Regions from separate parts of the Homo sapiens genome. Here all the other regions are linked to region 1. Evidence: promoter capture Hi-C in human tissues and cell types (Jung and others, 2019). All regions are on one chromosome and are shown on one strand. Each heading gives the region's core, a stretch centred on a gene start or on the middle of the fragment in contact. The rest is flanking DNA. Distances are from core to core; before and after follow the strand shown. Region 1 holds the start of FAM180A (family with sequence similarity 180 member A). Region 2 has its middle 97 kb from the start of FAM180A. Region 3 has its middle 74 kb from the start of FAM180A.

Region 1 (4,639 bases), core at 1,259-3,758:
TCAAATTTTTACCTGGCTGAGATCTACGACCACCTTTTGAAACAGAGACAGTGTAGGTATGATTACTCCCTGTATACTCAAGGGTTAGGAAAATGGAAAAGAACCGTGAGCCCCTCAAGAATGGTGGCTTTTCTTATTGGAATGAAGTAAATAAAATAAATTCATCAGCAATGCATTTAATTTCTCTCTTAGCAATTAATTGTGTATCTACATTGAATGATAACTGTGTAAACAGTCAAGATATGCATGTGGCAAATGAAAAATAAAGCAAAATGTTTTATCTTAAAAAAAAATGCATTGATTCCTTGAAACAACCCTATGAGAGGAAATTATTATTGTCCCCATTCTATAGATGAAGAAAATCAAGCCCAAGAGAGATGAGGGAACTCCACCAATATCACACAGCTAGTCAGTGGCACAGCTGGGATACAAAGACAGGCATCTTGCCCCAGAGCCTGCCCTCTCACCTTCTAGCTCTGCACTGCCCGATACAGGAGCCACTGGCTGCATGGAGCTATCAGGTACTTGAAACAGGGCTGGTGTGACTTGAGAAGTGCTATAAGTGTGAAATACACATTAGATTTCAAAGACCTCATGTAAATATTATATATATATATATAAAATATCTTGCTAATACTATATCACTTACTTGTAGAAATGATAATATCTTGGATATATTGAATTAAATGAAAGATATTATTACTATTCATTGCACTTGTTTCTTTTTACTTTTTCTATTTTTTATTTTTTTGAGATGGAGTTTCACTCGTGTTGCCCAGGCTAGAGTGCAGTGGCACCATCTCGCCTCACCACAACCTTCACCTCGCAGGCTCAAGAGACTCTCCTGCCTCAGCCTCTCGAGTAGCTGGGATTACAGGTGTGCACCACCATGCCCGGCTAATTTTTGTATTTTTAGGAGAGACGAGGTTTTGCCATGTTGGCCAGGCTGGTCACGAACTCCTGACCTCAGGTGATCCGCCTGCCTCGGCCTCCCAAAGTGCTAGGATTACAGGCGTGAGCCACTGCACCCAGCCTCTTTTTACTTTTTTTTAGTATGAGTTGTAGAAAATGTTAAGTGACGTTTGTGATTCACGTTACATTTCTGTTGGAGAGTGCTGCTGGCTAGTGCCCTAACCTCCTAGTTCGGTGGATGCATTAAATCAGTTAATGCAAGGAGGGCACCTAGCACGCTGTCTGAAGCAAATTAAGCACCTAATAGCTATTATTAATATTAGTGAGCGTACTGGTTTTCAAATGTTGTAGTCTAGTATTTTTTCCCCCAAAAAAACTGGTTGTTTTTTTTTTAATTTTTTTAAGAGGAAAGTTCTTACTCTGTCACCCAGGCTGGAGTAGAGTGTTGTGATCATAGCTCACTGCAGCCTTGAACTCCTGGGCCTAAACAATCCTTCTGCCTCAGCCACCTGAGTGACTAGGACTACAGGCACATGCCACCACGCCCAGCTAATTTTTTAATTTTTTGTAGAGACAGGGTCTATTTTCTCTAGGTTGGTCTTGAACTTCTGGCCTCAAGCAATTCCCCCACTTCGGCCTCCCAAAGTGTTGGGATTACAGGCGTGAACCACCATGCCCGGCTCCCAAACAACTTCTTATAGCAGATAAAAGAGGAGCTTTTGCAGTAGAGTAGAGCTTTGAGGAGCCCTCTTGGGGAGCCCATTCACCCTGGGCACCACCTCCACAAACTGGAAAACCCACAGGATGACATAATCTTTAAGTGTCCTTCAAGCTTTAGCATTCCCTATCATTTCAGAGAAGTTGAGGAAGTGATTGGGAAAGAATTAAGGTGTCTATGGCAGTATATTACAACGACTATGGAAAAACACTCCCATTTTGCTTGGGAAAATCAAAGTGGCTTGGCCCCAGGTCTAGGCACAGCCCAGAAATGGGAGCATCACCAATGTGAGTTGTGGGGCTTGGCCCCAGGTCTAGGCACAGCCCAGAAATGGGAGCATCACCAATGTGAGTTGGGGGTCCCCGTGGGCTCCTGGATCATTACCTACGCACGTTCACACAGACAATACCGATGCACCATGTCACCTCTCCACTTCGGCTCGGTCACAACCTGCCAACTCCCCACCCACCCAGAACCTGGGCAGACCAGACACAGGCTCTAGGCGCCAATGTCCTAGTCTAGCTCCAGGGCCAGGCAACAGTGACACTCAGCCCAGGCACCACAATGATTTTGCTGTCCTGAAGGCAACTTAGGCTCAACCAGCCCTGGTGTCTGCCAGGCAGGCTCCCAACTCTGCCTCCAGCCCTCGCCCCTGGCTCTGGTATCGTATGTGTGGACGGGGAGAGCAGCCAACTCTTCGCCGGGCTCTCTAACAAGTTCCGCGGGTCTGTTTGTTAAAGAAAAATTCCAGTGGGTGCATCCAACACATGGAACTCAAGTACAGAAATTATATTTATCCGCCCCACTGCCAAGGAGATCACATGCCCCGTGAGTCACTCCAGATGTGCTCAAAAACAGAGTCTCTCTGTGGAAGGCCAGTTCCCCAATCCCAGAGAGCGTCAAATGAAGAGAGGTACCGACTCCTGTCCCACCCAGGACGCAGCCTTCAGCCTCCAGCCTTCTGAGGCAGAGTAGGCATTTCTGCACGTCTGCAAAAGGAAGGGAGGGAAGCACTCCATCATCTCACTGGGAAGAACGGCACGGGCATACCTGCAGCTACTGGGGTTCCACTGGGCTTGAGGGTCGATTTTTCACCTTTTGAAGGACAAGATGCATTGGAAGATGTTGCTGCTTCTGCTGTTGTATTACAATGCTGAGGCTTCTATGTGCCACAGGTGGAGCAGGGGTGAGTTGCTTTTTATTCATTTGTTTGTTTGATGCTCATTATACTTTCTTCAATGCAATTCAAAATTTGGAGGGAAGGACATTAGAAGCCCCGCACTCTCCTTTTGTCTAATCTCTGTCAATTCCTTGATGCTTCTTGACGTGTTCCCCCTTCTTAGAGGGTGATGGGGAAATGACACTGGAAAAAATCAAAGCTCCTGAGGGAATTAGGTTGAGGTGGAGAACCCAGAGAGTACCCCTTTCTGGCATCCCAGAGAGAACTCATTTCTGCTTCATAGAAAGTAGAACTCATTTCTTCGACTGCCCCCACCACCTGCAGCAGTTGGGCCAGACCGTCTGGAGAGCAGGTGCTGAGACCTGCTGCTAAAATGATGGAGTGATGGGCACTGGGATGCCAAAGGCCTGCTCCCTGGGGGAACCAGAGCAGAAGCTCTGCAGAACGTTGCCTCCTCACCGGGAGGGGATGCATCTCTGCAGCCAGAGGTGGGCAGGTGAGGAGAGCAACCCTTCAACCTCCACTGCACCCACCAGCTCCGCCACCTCCTCACAAAGGAAGGGGCCCCAGCAAAGGCTGTTCTCTTATCACTGACTTCCTCCCCCTCAGGATGTAGTTCCTCCTAGCTGGATGGCATCTTTTCTCCATTTCCCTGGGAGTGGCTCTGCTTGGTAGACACTGGGAGCACCTCGAGCCAGAGTTTATCACTGTTAGGAAAGGAGGGACCCACGGCACTGCCCACTCTTCACCAATATGAACGGAAATCTTTCCACTGCCTAAAGTCAACTGAGTTCACTCTCCTAGAAAGAACCGCAAGAAGAACAGGCTCCTTCAAGTCAGGCCAGTAGGTGTTTCTAGAGATGCAAAATTGGAAGGCAACTGGCATGGTGGCATGGATGCGCCTCCTGCTTGCTTCTCAAGGACAGTGTCAGGGAAGGAAGGAGTGGCCGGAGTGGGGATAGAGCAGCGCGAGAGAAGGATCTGAAATGGGAGGGAGGCAAAAGCTACTGTACTTATGCTGGGTTTTATTTCCTCATGGTTAAACGTGACATTAGGGACTTACATCTCTAACAGGGATATAAGTCTTTTGAGCTGAGCTGTGAAGTGATCGTTGCCCAGAAACAAATAATACAGCATTCTTCATTTTTCTCATAACAACCTTGCATACACATGCACATACACACGTACACCCCTCCCTTTTCTTTTTTTAATTTTTAATTTTTAATTTCTGTGGGCACATAGTAGGTATACATATTTATGGGGCCTATGAGATGTTTTGATACAGGCACGTCACATCATGGAAGATGGGGTATCCATCCCCTCAAGCATTTAGCCTTTGTGTTACAAACAATCCAGTGATACCCTTTTAGTTACTTTTATTTGTTATTTATTTACTTATTTATTTATTTTTGAGACGGAGTCTCACTCTGTTGCCCAGGCTGGAATGCAGGGGTGCAATCTTGGTTCACTGCAACCTCCGCCTCCCAGGTTCAAGCGATTCTCGTGCCTCAGTCTCCTGAGTAGCTGGAGTTACAGGTGCGCACCACCACGCCTGGCTAATTTTTGTATTTTTAGTAGAGATGGGGTTTCACCATGTTGGCCAGGCTGCTCTCAAACTCCTGACCTCAAGTGATCTGCCCACCTCAGCCTCCCAAAGTTCTGGGATTATAGGCATGAGCCATAGTGCCTGGCCCTCTTTTAGTTCTTTTTAAATGTACAATTAAATTGTTATTGACTGTAGTCACCCTGTTTTCACACCTCCCTTTTCATTGTGTGCACAAACTTTGAGGTAGCACTTGGAAGTAAAAAGCAAAGAGATCTTGGAGTTG
Region 2 (4,639 bases), core at 1,288-3,787, 97 kb before region 1:
GGAATTGAACAATGAGAACACATGGACACAGGAAGGGGAACATCACACTCTGGGGACTGTTGTGGGGTGGGGGGAGGGGGGAGGGATAGCTTTAGGAGATATACCTAATGCTAAATGACGAGTTAATGGGTGCAGCACACCAGCATGGCACATGTATACATATGTAACAAACCTGCACATTGTGCACATGTACCCTAAAACTTAAAGTATAATAATAAAAGACAAAAAAAGAAAATGTGGCACATATATACCATGGAATACTATGCAGCCATAAAAAAGGATGAGTTCATGTCCTTTATAGGGACATGAATGAAGCTGGAAACCATCATTCTGAGCAAACTATCTCAAGGACAGAAAACCAAACACCGCATGTTCTCACTCATAGGTGGGAATTGAACAATGAGAACCCTTGGACACAGGGTGGGGAACATCACACACCAGGGCCTGTCATGGGGTGGGGGAAGTGGGGAGGGATAGCATTTGGAGAAATACCTAATGTAAATGATGAGTTAATGGGTGCAGCACACCAACATGGCACATGTATACATATGTAACAAACCTGCATGTTGTGCACATGTACCCTAGAAATTTAAGTATAATAAAAAAAATTGTTGAAGGTAAACAAAAAAAAATCTTTTATGCCATATTTTTACTGTACTATTTCTATATTTAGAAATATTTAGAAACACAAATACTTTTCACTGGGTTACAGTTGCCTACAGTATTCAATACAATAACCTGACGCACAGGTTTGTAGCCTAGGAGCAGTAGGCTGTCCCAGAGCCTAGGTGTGTAGTAATCTATAGCATCTAGGTTTGTGTAAGTACACTCTATGATGCTCACACATGATGAAGTCACCTCACACATTTCTCAGAATGCATCTCCATTGTTAAGTGACACATGACTCTAAGTTACAGGATATAGGGAGGGGAGGAAACATCACACGAGGACTTTTCCTCCTCTTCTGGGGAAGGGGTTAGTGCATTTTCAGTTGTACACAGGATGGGTGTGTATCATGTTAGATGGAATGATGGCCTTTGATATTGTCTTTATTTGGGTATTAAGTATGGTTTAAGGAGATGCGATGGATGCCAAGTTGACAAGGGGTGGACTTATGATGGTTAATTTTATGTGTCAGCTTGGCTGGGCCAACAGCGCCCAGATTAAACATTATTTCTAGGTGTGTCTGTGAGGGGGTTCCGGGATGAGGTTACTGTTTGAATGTGTGAACTCAATAAAGCAAATGGGCCTTCCCCACGGTGGGTGGGAGTCATCCAATCTGTTAAGGGCCAAAATAGGACAAAAGGCAGAGGAAAGAGAAATTTGCCCCTATTGCTTCCTGCCCACCTGCCTGAGCTGGGACATCCTTCTCCTGCCCTTGCACCAGGATGCACACCATCTGCCCCTTGGCTCTCAGGCCTAAGGTCTTAGACGGCATTACACCACTGGCTGTCCTGGGTCTCCAGCTTGCAGGTGGCAGATATAGGAATTCATAGTCTCCATAATCAAGCCAATTCACAATAAGTCTCATATATGCATATCCTCTTGTCTCTGCTTCTCATGAGAACCCTGGCTATTACAGTTAGTCATGCTATTCCTGTCACCAAACCCATGTGGTACCTTCAGGTGAGCTCACTCTCATGGGCTCCTTCTTCCTGTCCCCCAGTGGTGCCTCCCACTGGCCAAATCCACCCAGACGCCAGAGGGCAGGGAGCTCTTGGCTGTAGTTCCAGCAGGCCGGCCTCCTGAGCACAGCACAGGGGAAAAGAGCAGAGAGCGGCCCTGGAGGGACCCAAAGTAGACATCCTGGGGCCCCACCTTCTAAAGAGTTCTTCCTTTGGTGACTTGGCTCAAGAGCAATAAGTGAGGACGATGAGACAGGGGATCTGGCCTCAACTCCACATTCCGCTACCTTCTATCCATCCTTTCCATTGTCTGGGCCTCAATTTTCTCATTTGTAAAATGAAGAGGGGGAAAGTGGGTGCCTGTCACCACCTTGGGTGCCTAACTCACTCACCTCCTAGGCTCTTGGAGAGGGGTTCACTACCCAGCCAGCCATGACACAAGATCTCACATACCTGCACAGTGGTCTCTGAAGAAAAGACAGAAAGCCTCTCGACTCTCAGCGCAGACTGATTTCACAGATCCGAGCTGTAAGTTTCTACCCAGAAAGCTACCTGGTCTATTTCAGGATCCAGGTGAAAGTTGTCTTCCCTTAAAGTAGCATTTCTCCACATAGGGAATTAGCTCATAATGTCAATCATGGGCCCCACCACCACAGATTCTAATTCAAGATATCTGTTGTAGGAATTCCATGCAGGTTCTCCTTGTACCACACTTTGAAACCTACTGACTTAATGGACAATGGGTTGCATCATACACTTACATAATAGTGTAAGAATTTGTATGTTCATTTCCTCCTTAATGAAAACAAGCTATTATTCTGTAATGGTTATTTTTTAAAAACAATACTAAGAGTTTTGGACATTCAATCCAGTTAATGCACTGCAGCATAGAACTGCTTGCTAAGTAGTAAAATTGCTTTTCAAAACATGATCAAACATCAGTCTAATCAGCCAGGTGTTAGGCTCTCAATCACAAGCCTCAAAACACATAATCAAGTATCAGTAAGCAGGTGTTTTAAGTGAAGATTGAGATAAACAGTTGCCTTTGTGGTTACTGAGGAGGTTTTGCAACATTAAAATGGAGCACCTCGCACTCAAGCAAGCCAACTTCAGAAGCTTCTCAGCTGAACAAATCCGGGCAATAATTAGCACAGGACATTTTAAGCAGATCGCAGTTTAAAAGCTTTGAATCTTACTGAGGAAATCTGTTTTGTTTCCTTTATTCCCAACTGTCTTCAAGATTTTGCCCTGATAGATACTGACTCTGAAAAAAGTCACTAGACCACATTTCACTTTTTTCAGATGGAAGATTTTGATCCCTTTGAAGAAAATTGCGTTCAGATCATATACATACATTCAATATCACAATGCCAGGGTCCCACCCCACTGATCTTTCCAATGTGACAAGACTAGGACTGGGAGTTCTGAAGTAAAACCCAAGTTCCGCTTTAGAAATTACTTTTCACTCTCCCAAGTATTCAAAATGGCTTCTCAGTGGCCCAGTAAATAATACCACATAACTCCATGAAAAATCACTGAAAGATCGAGGGGACAACGTAAGGTGACCATCCTCAGCAGAAGTGCTCATTTTAAGAGTCAATATTAATAATGTAATAACAGAATCGGTCCAATGGGATTGAGCTCTATCAGTCACAAAATGTAACAAAATGAGGAGTTGCTTTCAGTTGCAGTGGACCTCCAGCTTTCAAGTCACATAACCTGAGCACACCCAGATGAACCAAGCCTGCCCAATTCGTGACCCTGTAGGTGGCCAGAGTGAAAACATCAACCACATATGGAACCTAAGAACTCAGATTGAAGAAGGAGGATCAAATTAAGAAGAGAAGGGCACCCTGTTTTGCTGCATTACAGACTTAAAAGGCAAGGACACCTCACCACCTCTTTGCATGGCCCAATCAGATCATGCCTCGTTGCATTTTCCTATGTCTCTGATTGTTATTCCCTGTGTGTAAAACCTGCTCTCAGGCCCCAGCTTGGGGAGACGAATTTAAGTGTTGCCTCCAATTTCCTTGCCAGTTGACCTTGCAATAAAGCTTTTTCTTTTCTCAAAAGCCTGTGCCATAGTATTGGCTTCTATGCACGTTAAGAGGAAAGCCCATGGCTCAGTAACAATAAGACTGGCCTGTCATTTAGGTTTATTCGAGTTCATCCACATGATTTATCTTAGCGAATGCTAAGAAGGGTTCCCTGCTTAAAACTGTAGCTCATAAATTTCTACTAATTTCCTTTGATTGTGAATAGCAGTTTAGTTTTGAGAAAATTTGGTTTTGGGGGGGTTTTTTGTTGTTTTTGTTTTTTTGAGATAGGGTCTCACTCTGTCGCCCAGACTGGAGTGTGGCGGCGCTATCTTGGCTCACTGCAACATCCGCCTCCCAGGCTCAAGCAATTCTCCTGCCTCAGCCTCCCAAGTAGCTGGGATTACAGGTGTGCAGCACCTGGCTAATTTTTTTTGTATTTTTAGTAGAGACGGGGTTTGACCATGTTGGCCAGGCTGGTCTTGAACTCCTCAAATGATCCACGCACCTCAGCCTCCCAAAGTGCTGGGATTACAGGCGTGAGCCACCACGCCTGGCCTTGAGAGAATTTCTCATGCTTCACTTTCTATTTCTCTTCCCTCTCCCCCGGCCTTGTATTGCCATCAAAATATTAGTTTCCATTCTTGTAATTTTATCTCTCTAGTTAAAGGAGCTGTTATAGCATTTGCTCATACATGATACCAACTAAACAGAGTCCCAGTTGCCCTTGCCATTCAATAGATATAGAGGTTTGTGACATAGAAAAATTTCATTCTCGGGCGGGCGCAGTGGCTCACACCTGTAATCCCAGCACTTTGGAAGGCCGAGGCGGGCGGATCACGAGGTCAGGAGATAGAGACCATCCTGGCTAACACGGTGAAACCCTGTCTTTACTAAAAAATACAAAAAATTAGCCGGGCGTGGTCGTGGGCGCCTGTAGTCCCAGCTACTCGGGAGGCTGAGGCAGGAGAATGGCGT
Region 3 (4,639 bases), core at 877-3,376, 74 kb before region 1:
GGACAAACACCTTGCACCGTGACTCCGGACACTAAGCCTCACTGGGAGTCTCTGTAGCCCTGCGTGACTGCTCAGGCTCCCGTTAATAACCAGATCCTGCTGCCTGCCAGTGTCTGCCACGTTCCTGCGCCAAGAGGAGTAGAGGAAGACCCTGTTCCCCAAGCACATCAGCGAGGCTCTGACCCACCACTTGTAACAGGCTGCCTGGACTTGCAAATCCATGAGAGGAGCAGCCACTAGTCATGGAGTGCTCACCACACACCAGGCCCAGTGCTAAATGCTCAAAGCGTCCTCTCCCTTGGATGTCGAGACTCTCATTATGCCCTTTTTATAAGTGAGACTTTGAAGGATTGAGCCTGTACTCTCACAATGACCTTCACCCCTCTGTCAAGTAGAGGCAATTTATAAAACTAGGATTTGGAACTAAGTTTGTTGCTACAGAGGGAGTTTTATCACACATATAGAAATACAAGAACCCCTTGAGCAGGCCTCCCTGCATCCCTCACTGCATCTAACTAATTAAATCAACATTTTCAACAGCCTCCCTGCGCCTGGCACCACCTTGACCTTCGTTAGCATCTCCCCGGGTGCTGGTGTTCAACATTTGCCATCAGAACAGTAGTGGTCTGAGGACCCGGTGCTGCCGGACACTGGGTCTCAGCCTGACCTTTGAGAACAGATGACTGTTTACTCACTGACTCCCCACCAGACACAGGAGACGGGACTCCCTAAGACGCTTGTTTACAGGCAGTGAGAATACCCCCAAAGCAAAGCTAAAAAGGGATCTGTCTTCAAGGACGCTGGAGCCCTCCTTTTTTTTTTAAGGAAGAAAATAAAAATGTGCTAAAAAGTGCTGAGAGGATTGAATTATAACGCATCAGAAGGAAAAGAGAATCTGCAGTTGTCCTTACGCTCGTCAGCCTGTTCGGTAATGAGTGGGGAAGTGAGAAGAGGAAAGCAACTGGAAGAACTCCACACGACCCACAGAAACCTGGCCCTTTGCAAATGCTGAGCTGGGCCTCCTTCTCTCAGGGTGCTGTAGAGCAGAGGCTCTCAGTGAGATCCCTGGACCCACAGCAGCAGCATCAGTAGGGAGCTTGTTAGAAATGCACATTCTCAGGCCTCATCCTAAGCCATACTCAATCAGAAACAGGGTGGCCGGCCTTGCAGCCTGTGGTTGCTCACTTGAGAACCTCTGTTGTAGGGGAAAAGAAGTACCTGGGATATATTTACAGCTTCTTTACTCTTGCTGGAGCTGCAACACAGCTGCAAAGCCAAGAGCACAAGCCAAGGAGAGCCTATGCCATTGGTGCAGATCATGACTGGGTCAGCATGTTGAATCCCAACTTCTTGAGTCATCTCCAAGGTGAATGTGTTGCTTCCCCAACCCAATTTGCTCCAACCTTTTAAAAGTCAGTTTTCTGGCCACACTCTGCCTCTTGCTCCCTTGCCAGGCAGATGGGAAGTAGGATTCCCCAAGAGGATCAGGAACAATCTCGTCGGACTAAATTCAGCCAATCTTCATCAAATGCCTAAAACTACCTTTGGATCTTCACAGGACCTTGAAAAACACTGGCTCCTGTTCCTTTGTCTTACTTCTTGCATCTTCCCAGAGCACAGCACAGCCTGACTCAATTCTTCTGACATAAATATGAATCATAGACTCTCCATAAGTATCAGCCCTGATAGGGACACAATCTCTCCCGGTGAGAGATGTCCCATAGCATCATTTTGTCCAATCATCCATTTCCACTGATGGCTCAGAAATCACATCCATGCCTTGTTATTGAAATGTACAGTTTGACATTGTTTTAGTACAAAGACAAAGCCACACTGTAAAAGCATGTATTCGGCAAATCATTGGTCAGCACAGACATCGGTATACCCAGGACTCCCTGCGATACAGCAGGAGGGGAGAGCCATTCTCTGTGGGTGATTTGCCTATTTTCTCTTTAAGGGATAAGAGAGAAGTTCTGGCTTAAGGGCCCCCAATTTAAATGTATGTCACCATCATCTCACTGTTAAATCAGCTGTCAGCAACCACTCTCAGACTATGTGAAGTCACATTCTTTGACAAAGCTTACATAGAAATGGTGACCTTGTGACTCTAGGGAGCCAACGACATAGAGAGGCGCCCACAGTGGGGCCTATGAGCAGCTGCTGATGACCAGATTCTACCTGTGGCTGAGATTCAAGGAGGTCAGTGAGATTGGCTCTGTCTCCAGTGATGGGACTGTCCATGTGGTGGAGGAAGGCTTAACTGGCAAGTTCACTGGGGGTGGGAGTGACACCGATACAACCTCTGCCGGCCTTGCTCTTTCCCCCAGCAACTAGGAGCCACTCATTTTCCTCTGCAAAGAAGGAACTGAGCAGGTGGCTCATTTGCCTAACTCGGAGTCCTCTGAATTCTCCAGATGCAGGCCGTCTGCCATTCTTCTGCACAGGGGACGGCCACAGGGTCTGGAAGCAAATTACCTTTAATGAGCCTAGAAGGATCCCTTCTGGGACCAGCCTGCTCTCCATATGCCAGACCCCTGCTACATCGAGTTCTCTTTCTTCTCCACCCCCAGAAGCACCTCCTTTTGTGCCTCATTTAAAGAGTCTGAAAGGCAAATGGCTTCTGGACCTCTTCTACCTCATATCCTGCACTCATTAACGGAGACAAAGAGGGACTAGGGGAAAAGTCACCAAATACAAAACACACTTTTAATGGGAAACCAAATATCGTATGTTCTGACTTCTAAGTGGGAGCTAAGCTATGAGGACGCAAAGACTTAAGAGTGATATAATGGACTATGGGGACTTGGTGGGGGACAGGTTGGGAGAGGGGTGAGGGATAAAAGACTATATATATGGGGTATGGTATACACTGCTCGGGTGACAGGTGCATAAAATCTCAGAAATCACCACTAAAGAACATTTCCATGCAACCAAAAACCACCTGTACCCCAAAAACTATTGAAATAAAAAACTAATTTTAAAAAACTATATTTTTTGTTTTCTGTTTAATAGTCACTCACGCCTGGGCACAAGCATTTAGCAAGCTGGGCTAGCCTCCACACAAAAGGACAATAGAACCTGATTGAAATAAACATTTATTTATTCAATAAATATTTATAAAACACATCTTTAAGGCATTATGCTAGGAGTCCCAAAGTAAACTAATGCTGAGCAAAACTAACATAGCCCTTTCCTCACTGAACTTCAGTGCAGAGAGCAGACAGGCATTCAACAAGAACATCAACAAATGTATGTGTGATTTCAATGCACGCTAAGTGCCAGGGAGAAACAAAGCACAGTGATGGAGCCAAGAGGAGGAGATCACTCAGGGAAGGCCTTGCTGAGGAGGAAACATTTAAGGCAAATCCTGAATTATAAAAATAGGCCAGCCATGCAAGCATTCAGGAGGAAAAGTGTCCCATGCAGAGGGAACAATGTGTCAGAAGACCAGGTATGAGAAGTGTTGCATGAATTTAAGGAATACAAAGCAGCCAGAGTGGCCCAAGCGACATGAGTGAGATGGGGGGGAATAGAACAAGATGGAATTGGAAAGGTGGGCACGGACTGGATCAGGGGAGATGGGGTTGGGAAGGTGGGCAGGGCCTGGATAAGGGAGGACCCTGATAGCCATACTATGAGATCTGGACTTTTTTCCAACATGTAATGGAACACCATTGAAGAGTTTTAAGAAGGAGCATCATATGGTATAATTTATCTTTTTTAAAAAATATCTAGGCTACTCTGAGGAGAAAAAATAAACTGAAGGAACTGGAGAGAAAGCAGGAGACAAGTAAGCAGCTGGTGTGGTCGTCCTGCTGAGAAATGTTGCTGTCTGGAATTCTGCATTAGCAGCAGAGATGGAAGGGAGTGGATGTATTTGAGATATCTGGGTGACATGGAAGAGGAAGAAATCAAAGACCATACAAGATTTCTGACCGGGACAATTAGATGAATGAGGGTCCCAGTAGAGATGGGGCTGAGCACTCTGATGACAAAGGCTGTGCCTGTTGAGAAACAGAGGCAGGGGTCAGGCATAGAGAGGGCTGCTCTAAGCATGCCTGTGCGGAGTCAGTCCATGTGCTGACGCCCACCAGCAGTGCCCCAAACGTTCCTTCCTCATTGCTGGCCATTAGCCAGAACATGGCAGGGAACTCGCAACTCCACATCTCCTGGCTTCAGCAGCTCTAGCAAAACAAAACCAACTTTCTGCTTTCAACATTTGGTGTTGAAACACAAACAGAAACATCTCAAAAAACACCATTCAATTGGGTTTCCCATTATTCACACAGATTTGGTTGCCTTCTTGCTCATGATAGCCCGAGAACTAGCAGTAGGCCAGGCTTCTATATGGAGTTACTTGTTGACTAAGGAAATGAGAAGATCTACAGCCTTCAAGAACCCTGGTAATCCCAGACATAAGGTTTCTACATCTGCTCTCCCTGGTTCCACTTTATGAACCATCCCTCATTCCCATCTCTAAAATGCATGAGCCCTTAACTTGGACACAATTGTGAATATCATGGTGCCCAAAAAGACATGTAGTCTGACTTACATAATAAACCCAAGAATTCAACCAAGCTTTATTACTTCTCTCACAGCAGGTATAAATCTTTAAATTTTTATTGTACTTGTCTGTCTG

The links. The method cuts DNA at HindIII sites, captures the fragments that hold promoters and counts their contacts. A contact is called where the count stands out against the background at its distance.
Region 2: a fragment that was not itself captured here is called in contact with the fragment with the promoter of FAM180A in region 1 in 3 of the 25 tissues and cell types used here (adrenal gland, bladder and ovary).
Region 3: a contact is called between a fragment that was not itself captured here and the fragment with the promoter of FAM180A in region 1, in 4 of the 25 tissues and cell types used here (H1 embryonic stem cells, heart left ventricle, liver and 1 more).

The regions. Positions count from the first base shown.
Region 1 is chr7:135,746,682-135,751,320 of GRCh38, reverse strand. FAM180A (family with sequence similarity 180 member A) reads left to right here and starts at 2,508. Exons shown (of 4, transcript NM_205855.4): 1 at 2,508-2,816. The coding sequence starts at 2,741. The HindIII fragment of the contact is 9,123 bases long and covers 1-4,639 here.
Region 2 is chr7:135,843,620-135,848,258 of GRCh38, reverse strand. No RefSeq gene overlaps it. Among named protein-coding and RNA genes, the nearest start is that of FAM180A, 97 kb to the right of the region's middle. RefSeq lists a silencer at 1,566-1,718. The HindIII fragment of the contact is 4,493 bases long and covers 291-4,639 here.
Region 3 is chr7:135,820,369-135,825,007 of GRCh38, reverse strand. No RefSeq gene overlaps it. Among named protein-coding and RNA genes, the nearest start is that of FAM180A, 74 kb to the right of the region's middle. The HindIII fragment of the contact is 7,079 bases long and covers 1-4,639 here.